2 separate regions of the Homo sapiens genome follow, and region 2 is linked to region 1. The links are contacts of gene promoters, found by promoter capture Hi-C in blood cells and fetal thymus (Javierre and others, 2016). All regions are on one chromosome and are shown on one strand. Each heading gives the region's core, a stretch centred on a gene start or on the middle of the fragment in contact. The rest is flanking DNA. Distances are from core to core; before and after follow the strand shown.

Region 1 (4,091 bases), core at 83-2,582:
CTCAAACATATGTTCCACTGCTTTGCCAATTATGGTATTTGCAAGGTTGGCATCACTAATGTGAGATGATGCCACCCTGTCAGAAAGAATTTTAAGAGACAAAACCCTTTCATCTCTGTGAAGTTCCAGTCCATAGACACAGTCAATTCCATCATATTTCACCAGATAAAGAGAGGGATTTATAGGCACCTGATCCAGAACGGTTCCTTTCCACTGCGTGATGGGCTCATCTCCTTCCTTCCATCCATGAGAAATTCTGCAGCCCACGATGTTCCTGCGGGGCTGGGATGAAGGTCGGCCTCTCTGCTTCTTTTGGGAGACTTTTTTCTTTGTCATGTTTGCAGACCCAGTGGCCCGTCCTGCAGCTGCCCTGGTTTGTTGCCCTTCGGCTTCCTGTGCGTTGGGGGTCTTCATGCCTGCTGGGGGAGGAGAGAGGATAGAGAGACACACCCAGTGTGCCACAAGGCAAACTTTTCCCTATAGCCATGTCTGGATGTAGTCTGCGCTAGTGCCTAAGTTTCCCCTAGGAGCCTGGAAGCAATGCTGGAAATCCTGGCTGCATGCCCGCAGTGCTCTCCCTCTTAAGTTCCTTTGGGCTGTGGGGAAGGGCTGGGGTGGTGCAGTAGAGCTGTCTGGGGTTAGGAACTCTGCAGAAGTGGCTGGGCCACCTCCTCCTAGCTCAGAGCCCACTGCCCTCCCGGAACCCCTTGCTACCACTGGCGTCCACTTCCAATCCCCTTGCAAAGAGGCCTTGACCGGCACCCACTGCCCTCCTTCCCTGAGCGTCCCAGCTGCTGTCCACAACACCCCCTGCCTACCCTAACCACTTCTCTGGTACCCACCGCCCTTGCTTCCCGGCGCTCACCTTCAAATCCTTGTCTGGCTCCCGTTCCTACCCCCTTTTCATGTTGCTCACCGCACTCCCCCACCCCACCCTTGCCTGGCGCCCAACTCCACCCCATGTCTCCTGCTGGATTCCTTCCCATCCCCCTCTCCATTCTGGCGCCCACTAATGGCCTTGCCCTGCCTGGCGTCCACCGCCGGGGATCGCGGGCCTCACGTGCCCAAATCGGACACCTCGCTGCTGCCTCCGCTACGAGCCTGTGGCGAAGGAGGGTCAGCAGGCGACCGGCCGAGTGAATGCTTGCAAGAGCGGGGAGGGTAGGATCCGTAGATGAGGAGCGTGTCTAGGAGGGCGGCGAGACAGGCAAAGAGGAAGGCAGCGGCGTCCCCACCGCTTGGCTCGCTAGCCCTCCGCCTCCCTGCTGGCGGTGGCGGCCCCTCAGCCACATCGGGATTCCACCAGTCCCTGCTGTCGCCGCGGCAGTCTCCTCCCTCTTTCCGTAGCGCAGCTTCCTGCCCAGAGAGAGGCCTCCTCTTCCTGTCAAACACCCGGCTCTCCTCTCCACCAGGCTCCCACGCCCACCACACAGCCTGTAGCCCCGGCGGAGCTATGGGCTCTGACTCCGCCTCTTTCCAAATCCGGAGTAGTTCGTGCCACAGTCGTCCTCGGAACCCTGTGGCCCCTTCCTCACCCGTTTCAGGGCCACTTGGTTCCCACCTCCACCTTCTTAGTCTGCCTGCCCTGCTTTCCATCTTCTTGGAATTCGCCTTGCTGCCGCCCCGCGCCCACCCCCGCGCCCACCCCTGCCCCTGCACCGTCCCATGCCCTTATGGATTTATTCTTTACACGTAAATATGTCTTTCCTCTTTTTGAAAGGATTTGGAGTTGGAACAGAGAAATTCACTATGGTAAGTCTGCCATTTTGACCCAGTCTCTACCTAATTTTTGCTGACTGATATTTCCTGGCATTTTTGTTTTTGTTTTCGAGGGATTTTTTTTTCCTTTTCTTTATTGCAAGATAATTGCATGTACAACGTGAACACTATCTACATTTTAGGAAATTAATATTAAGAGGAAAATCATCAACTGCAGTCCCATCTCCCATTTTTGAGGGCCTCACAGCAAAATATTAATGCTCATAGTTTTTTTTCCTTTTTCCTAAACTTTTGCAAAACTGGGATTTGTTTTTTATCTGCAATTCATGTCTATTAATTTTTCCAGGAAATTAGATGTTTTCTAATCGATTTTTTCATTCAACAAATATTTATTGAGCACCTGTTACATATCTTGCACTTGGTCCGTAAAACTCAATTTTAAAGTGATTTATAATTTGGCTTTTCTCCCAGTACTGGGCATTTGACATAATATTTCCACAATAACCAGTAATCAGATCTATGTATCGGAATAGAAAGCTTTGCAAAAAAATAACTTTATAAGAAATAATTAAAGTTATAGTTTTATAAATCAGTGGAGAAACGTTGGGTATTCTTTAAGGAATGTTGAAATAATTATTTAAATATTTTGAGAAAGGTTGTATACTAATGTTGTACCAGTATCAATATTTGATTTATTAAAAGGTAAAAAGCAGCAAAATAAAATTGAACAGAAAGCAAATGAACCAACCAAAAACTCTGTAAACAAAACAATGCTTAATGGTATCTTTCTTATTCAGATACTTATGGTATTTGAATGAGGGGATGAGTCGGATGTTAACAGAACAACTACACTTAATAAAATAACATCTACAAGGAAAAATAGAAGTAATAATAATCTCGATTCAACAGTCAAAGTATGAAAGAACATTAAAATATTACTTAATGTCATTGATCATGAAAAAGCTTCATATCTAGTGCTGATGCAAGTGAAAGTTTATACAATTTTTATGGAAAGCAATTTGCAGATATGTCATAGTTTCAGTGAGGGCTTTTTATTTTATTTTCATTTTTATTTTTTTAAATTATATTTTAAGTTCTAGGGTACATGTGCACAATGTGCAGGTTAGTTACATGTGTATACGTGTGCCATGTTGGTGTGCTGCACCCATTAACTCCTCATTTACATTAGGTATATCTCCTAATGCTATCCCTCTCCCCTACCCCCACCTCACAAGAGGCCCCATTGTGTGATGTTCCCCTTCCTGTGTCCATGTGTTCTCATTGTTCAATTCCCACCTATGAGTGAGAACATGCGGTGTTTGGTTTTTTGTCCTTGCGATAGTTTGCTGAGAATGATGGTTTCCAGCTTCATCCATGTCCCTACAAAGGACACGGACTCATCATTTTTTATGGCTGCATAGTATTCCATGGTGTATATGTGCCACATTTTCTTAATCCAGTCTATCATTGTTGGACATTTGGGTTGGTTCCAAGTCTTTGCTATTTTGAATAGTGCCGCAATAAACGTATGTGTGCATGTGTCTTTATAGCAGCATGACTTATAATCCTTTGGGTATATACCCAGTAATGGGATGGCTCGGTCAAATGGTATTTCTAATTCTAGAACCCTGAGGAATCGCCACGCTGACTTCCACAATGGTTCAACTAGTTTACAGTCCCACCAACAGTGTAAAAGTGTTCCTATTTCTCTACATCCTCTCCAGCACCTGTTGTTTCCTTACTTTTTAATGATCGCCATTCTAACAGGTGTGAGATGGTATCTCATTGTGGTTTTGATTTGCATTTCTCTGATGGCCAGTGATGAAGAGCATTTATTCATGTGTCTGTTGGCTGCATAAATGTCTTCTTTTGAGAAGTGTCTGTTCATATCCTTTGCCCACTTTTTGATGGGGTTGTTTGTTTTTTTCTTGTAAATTTGTTTGAGTTCATTGTAGATTCTGGATATTAGCCCTTTGTCAGGTGAGTAGATTGCAAAAACTTTCTCCCATTCTGTAGGTTGCCTGTTCACTCTGATGGTAGTTTCTTTTGCTGTGCAGAAGCTCTTTAGTTTAATTAGATCCCATTTGTCAATTTTGGCTTTTGTTGCCATTGCTTTTGGTGTTTTAGACATGAAGTCCTTTCCCATGCCTATGTCCTGAATGATATTGCCTAGGTTTTCTTCTAGGGTTTTTATGGTTTTAGGTCTAACGTTTAAGTCTTTAATCCATCTTGAATTAATTTTTGTATAAGGTGTAAGGAAGGGATCCAGTTTCAGCTTTCTACATATGGCTAGCCAGTTTTCCCAGCACCGTTTATTAAATAGGGAATCCTTTCCCCATTTCTTGTTTTTGTCAGGTTTGTCAAAGATCAGA
Region 2 (3,725 bases), core at 790-3,289, 770 kb after region 1:
GTACTAGTCCATCTTCATGCCGCTATAAACAATTGCCTGAGAATGAGTAATTTACAATGAAAAGATGTTTAATTGACTCACCGTTCTGCAGAGCTGCAGAGGCCTCAGGAAATTAACAATCATGGCAGAAGGAGAAGCAAATATGTCCTTCTTCTTATGGCAGTAGAATGGGGAAGAATGAGTGCCCACCAAAGGGCCTCTTATAAAACCATCAGATCTCGTGAGAACTAACTATCACAAGAACAGGATGGGGAGAACCACCCCCATGATTCAATTATCTCCACGTGGTCATCCCTTGACACATGGGGATTATTGCAATTCAAGATGAAATTCTGGGTGGGGACACAGCCAAACCATAATATTCTACCACTAGGCCCTCCCAAATCTCATGTCCTCACAATTCAAAACACAATCACACCCTTCCAACAGTCCCCTAAAATATTAACTCATTCCAGTATTAACTCAAAAGTCCAAGTCCAAAGTCTCATCTGAGACAAGGCAAGTCCATTCCACCTATGAGCCTGTAAAATCAAAAGCAAGTGGTTACTTCCTAGATAAAATGGGTACAGGCATTGGACAAATACATCTGTTCCAAATGGGAGAAACTGGCCAAAACAAAGGGGTTAGAGCCCCCATGTAATCATTAAACCTTAAAGTTCCAAAATAATCTCCTTTGATTCCATGTCTCACATCCAGGTCATGCTGATGCAAGAGGTGGGCTCCCATGGTCTTGGGCAGCTCCATCCCTGTTGCTTTGCAGGGCACAGCCCCACTCCTGGCTGCATTCACTGGCTGGTTTTGAGTGTCTGTGGCTTTTCCAGGTGCACTGTGCAAGCTGTCAGTGGCTCCACAATTCTGGAGTCTGGAGGATGGTGGCCCTCTTCTCATAGCTCCATTAGGCAGTGCTCCAGTGGAGATTCTGTGTGGGGGCTTCAACCCCACATTTCCCTTCCACACTACCTTAGCAGAGGTTTTTCATGAGGGCTCTGCCCCTGTATCACACTTCTGCCTGGACATTGAGGCATTCCCATACATCCTCTGACATCTAGGGGGAGGTTCTAAAACCTCAATTATTGACTTCTGTCTACCCACAGGCTCAACATCATGTGAAAGCTGTCAAGGCTTGGGGCTTGTACACTCTGAAGCCATGGCCCGAGCTGTACCTTGGCCCCTTTTAGCCATGGCTGGGACACAGGGCACCAAGTCTTGAGACTGCACAAAGCAGTAAGACTAGGAGGCCAGGCCTCTGGGCCTGTGATGGGAGGTACTGCCATGAAGACCTCTGATATGCCCTGGAGACCATTTCCCCATTGTTTTGGAGATTTACCCTTGGCTCTTCATTACTTATGCAAATTTCTGCAGCCAGCTTGAATTACTCCCCAGAAAATGGGTTTCTCTTTTCTATCACATCATCAGGCTGCAAATTTTCTGAACTTTTATGATCTGCTTCCCTTTTAACATAAGCTCCAATTCCAAACCATATCTTTGTGAATACATAAAACTGAATGCTTTTAACAGCACCCAAGTCACATCTTGAATGCTTTGCTGTTTAGAAATTTCTTCTGCCAGATACCCTAAATCATCTCTCTCAAGTTCAAGATCTCTAGGGCAGGGGCAAAATGCTTCTAGTCTCTTTGCTAAAACATAGCAAGAGTCACATTTATTCCAGTTCCCAAAAAGTTTCTCATCTCCATCTGAGACCACCTCAGCCTGGACTTCATTGTCTATATCACTCTCAGCATTTTGGTCAAAGCCATTCAACAAATCCCTAGGAAATTCCAAACTTTCCCACATCTTTCTGTCTTCTGAGCCTGCCAAGTCTCTAGGAAGTTCCACACTTTCTCACATTTTCCTGTCTTCTTCTGAGTCCTAAAAACTGTTCCAACTTCTGCCTATTACACAGGTCCAAAGTAGCTTGCACATTTTTGGGTAGCCTTGTAGTGACACCCCAATCTACTGGTACCAATTTATTGTATTAGTCCATCCTCACACTGCTATAAAAAAACTGCCTGAGACTGGGTAATTTATAAAGGAAAGAGGTTTAATTGACTCACAGTTTCACAGGGCTGGGGAGGCCTCAGAAAACTTACAATCATGGCCGAAGGGGAAGCAAACGCATCCTTCTTCTCATGCGGTAGGAAGGGGAAGAATGAGTACCCAGCAAAGGGGGAAGCCCCTTATAAAACCATCAGATCTTGTGAGAACTAACTCACTATCACAAGAAAAGGATGGGGGAAAACACCCCCATGATTCAATTATCTCCACCTGGTCCCACCCTTGACATATGGGGATTATTACAATTCAAGATGAAATTTTGGGTGAGGACACAGCCAAACCATATCAACTATACACTAAAAAATTAGAAAACCTACAGAAAATCAATAAATTCCTAGACACATACAACCTACCAATACTGGGTCACAAAGAAATAGAAAACCTGAGGACACTAATTGAATCAACAATGAAATGTCCCTTGACAGAGAAAAGCCTAGGGTCAGATATCTTTACTGCTGAGTTCTCTTCTTGCCCATGCTGTCTGCCTGATATAAAGAATTAACACCAATTCTTCTCAAACTATTCCAAAAAAAATTAAGAGAAGGTAACTCTAACTCATTCTATGAAGCCAGTATTATCCTGATACCCAAATCACCACAAAGACATAACTAAAAAAAAGTATAGGTCAATATTCCTGATAAATATAGATGCAAAAATCCTCAACAAAATACTATCAAACTGAATCTAACAGCACATAAAAAGAAACATCCTGATCTGTTGGTAGTTACTCCAGTAATACAAGGATGGTTTCACATATGCAAATCAGTAAATGTGATATATAACATGAATACAATGAAATACTAAAACCATATAATCATCTCAATAGATGCAGCAAAAACATTTGATAAAATTCAACATCTCTTCATGATGAAGACTCAGAAATTAAACAGAGAAAGAAGGTAACTCAACATAATTAAGGTTTTCTACAACCTGCACAGAGCTAACATCATACTGCATGGGGAAAAGATGAACCCTTTCCCTAAGAACTGGGACAAGACCTAGAAGCCCACGTTCACCACTCTAACTCACTATGGTACTGGAAGTCTTATCTAGAACAATAAGGCAAGACAAGGAAATAGAAGACATCTAAATTGAACAAGAGGAATTCAAATCCATCTTTACACAGAACACAATCTTATATATAGAAAAATCTTTAAAATGTTAGGGATCAAAATATCTGATGAGATGCTGGTAGTCTGTGCTTCCTCCACAGAGAGGAATTAGAATAGTTAAGTGGATACGCACATTTTGAACAGATCGTTTAGCAGGGAATGCTAGGATTCACTGAAGAAGTGAAAGAAAGCACCAGAAGGAGAGGGTTCGAAGCAGCTTGCCTGGCTGGGAACTAGCTGAGAGATGGGAGAGGCTCCTGGACATGGAAAACAGTAAGAGAGAAACACTCAGGGTTCCACACTTTGTAATGGGCTTTTACAATGTTGGTTATAGGAGAAACCTCTGACCTACTAGGGCCTCAGGCCTGACATACAGAGCTGCCTGAAAACTGGACAAAGACATTACTCCAGAAAGGGAACCAATATGGAATCCCACAGGTATCTAAACCTAAATAGACTCAGCTGGGTGCCATTTTGAGAGCCCTAATACTGGGGATCTATAGACACAGTTACTGCTGCTGTGTTGCTCCAAGGGGGAAAAGGGAAGAGCAAGTGCTC

What was found. Contacts are between HindIII fragments. The CHiCAGO score rates a contact against its expected background, and 5 or more counts as called.
Region 2: a fragment that was not itself captured here is called in contact with the fragment with the promoter of SPIN2B in region 1 in 1 of 17 cell types (total CD8 T cells); the score reaches 5.2 in total CD8 T cells.

What each region holds. Positions count from the first base shown.
Region 1 is chrX:57,120,216-57,124,306 of GRCh38, forward strand. It overlaps SPIN2B (spindlin family member 2B), which reads right to left and starts at 1,333. Exons shown (of 2, transcript NM_001006681.2): 1 at 1,023-1,333; 2 at 1-416. The coding sequence starts at 414. It also overlaps a transcript of FAAH2 not described here. RefSeq lists a silencer at 1,501-1,620. The HindIII fragment of the contact is 2,706 bases long and covers 1-2,254 here.
Region 2 is chrX:57,888,347-57,892,071 of GRCh38, forward strand. No RefSeq gene overlaps it. Among named protein-coding and RNA genes, the nearest start is that of ZXDA, 20 kb to the right of the region's middle. The HindIII fragment of the contact is 7,004 bases long and covers 1-3,725 here.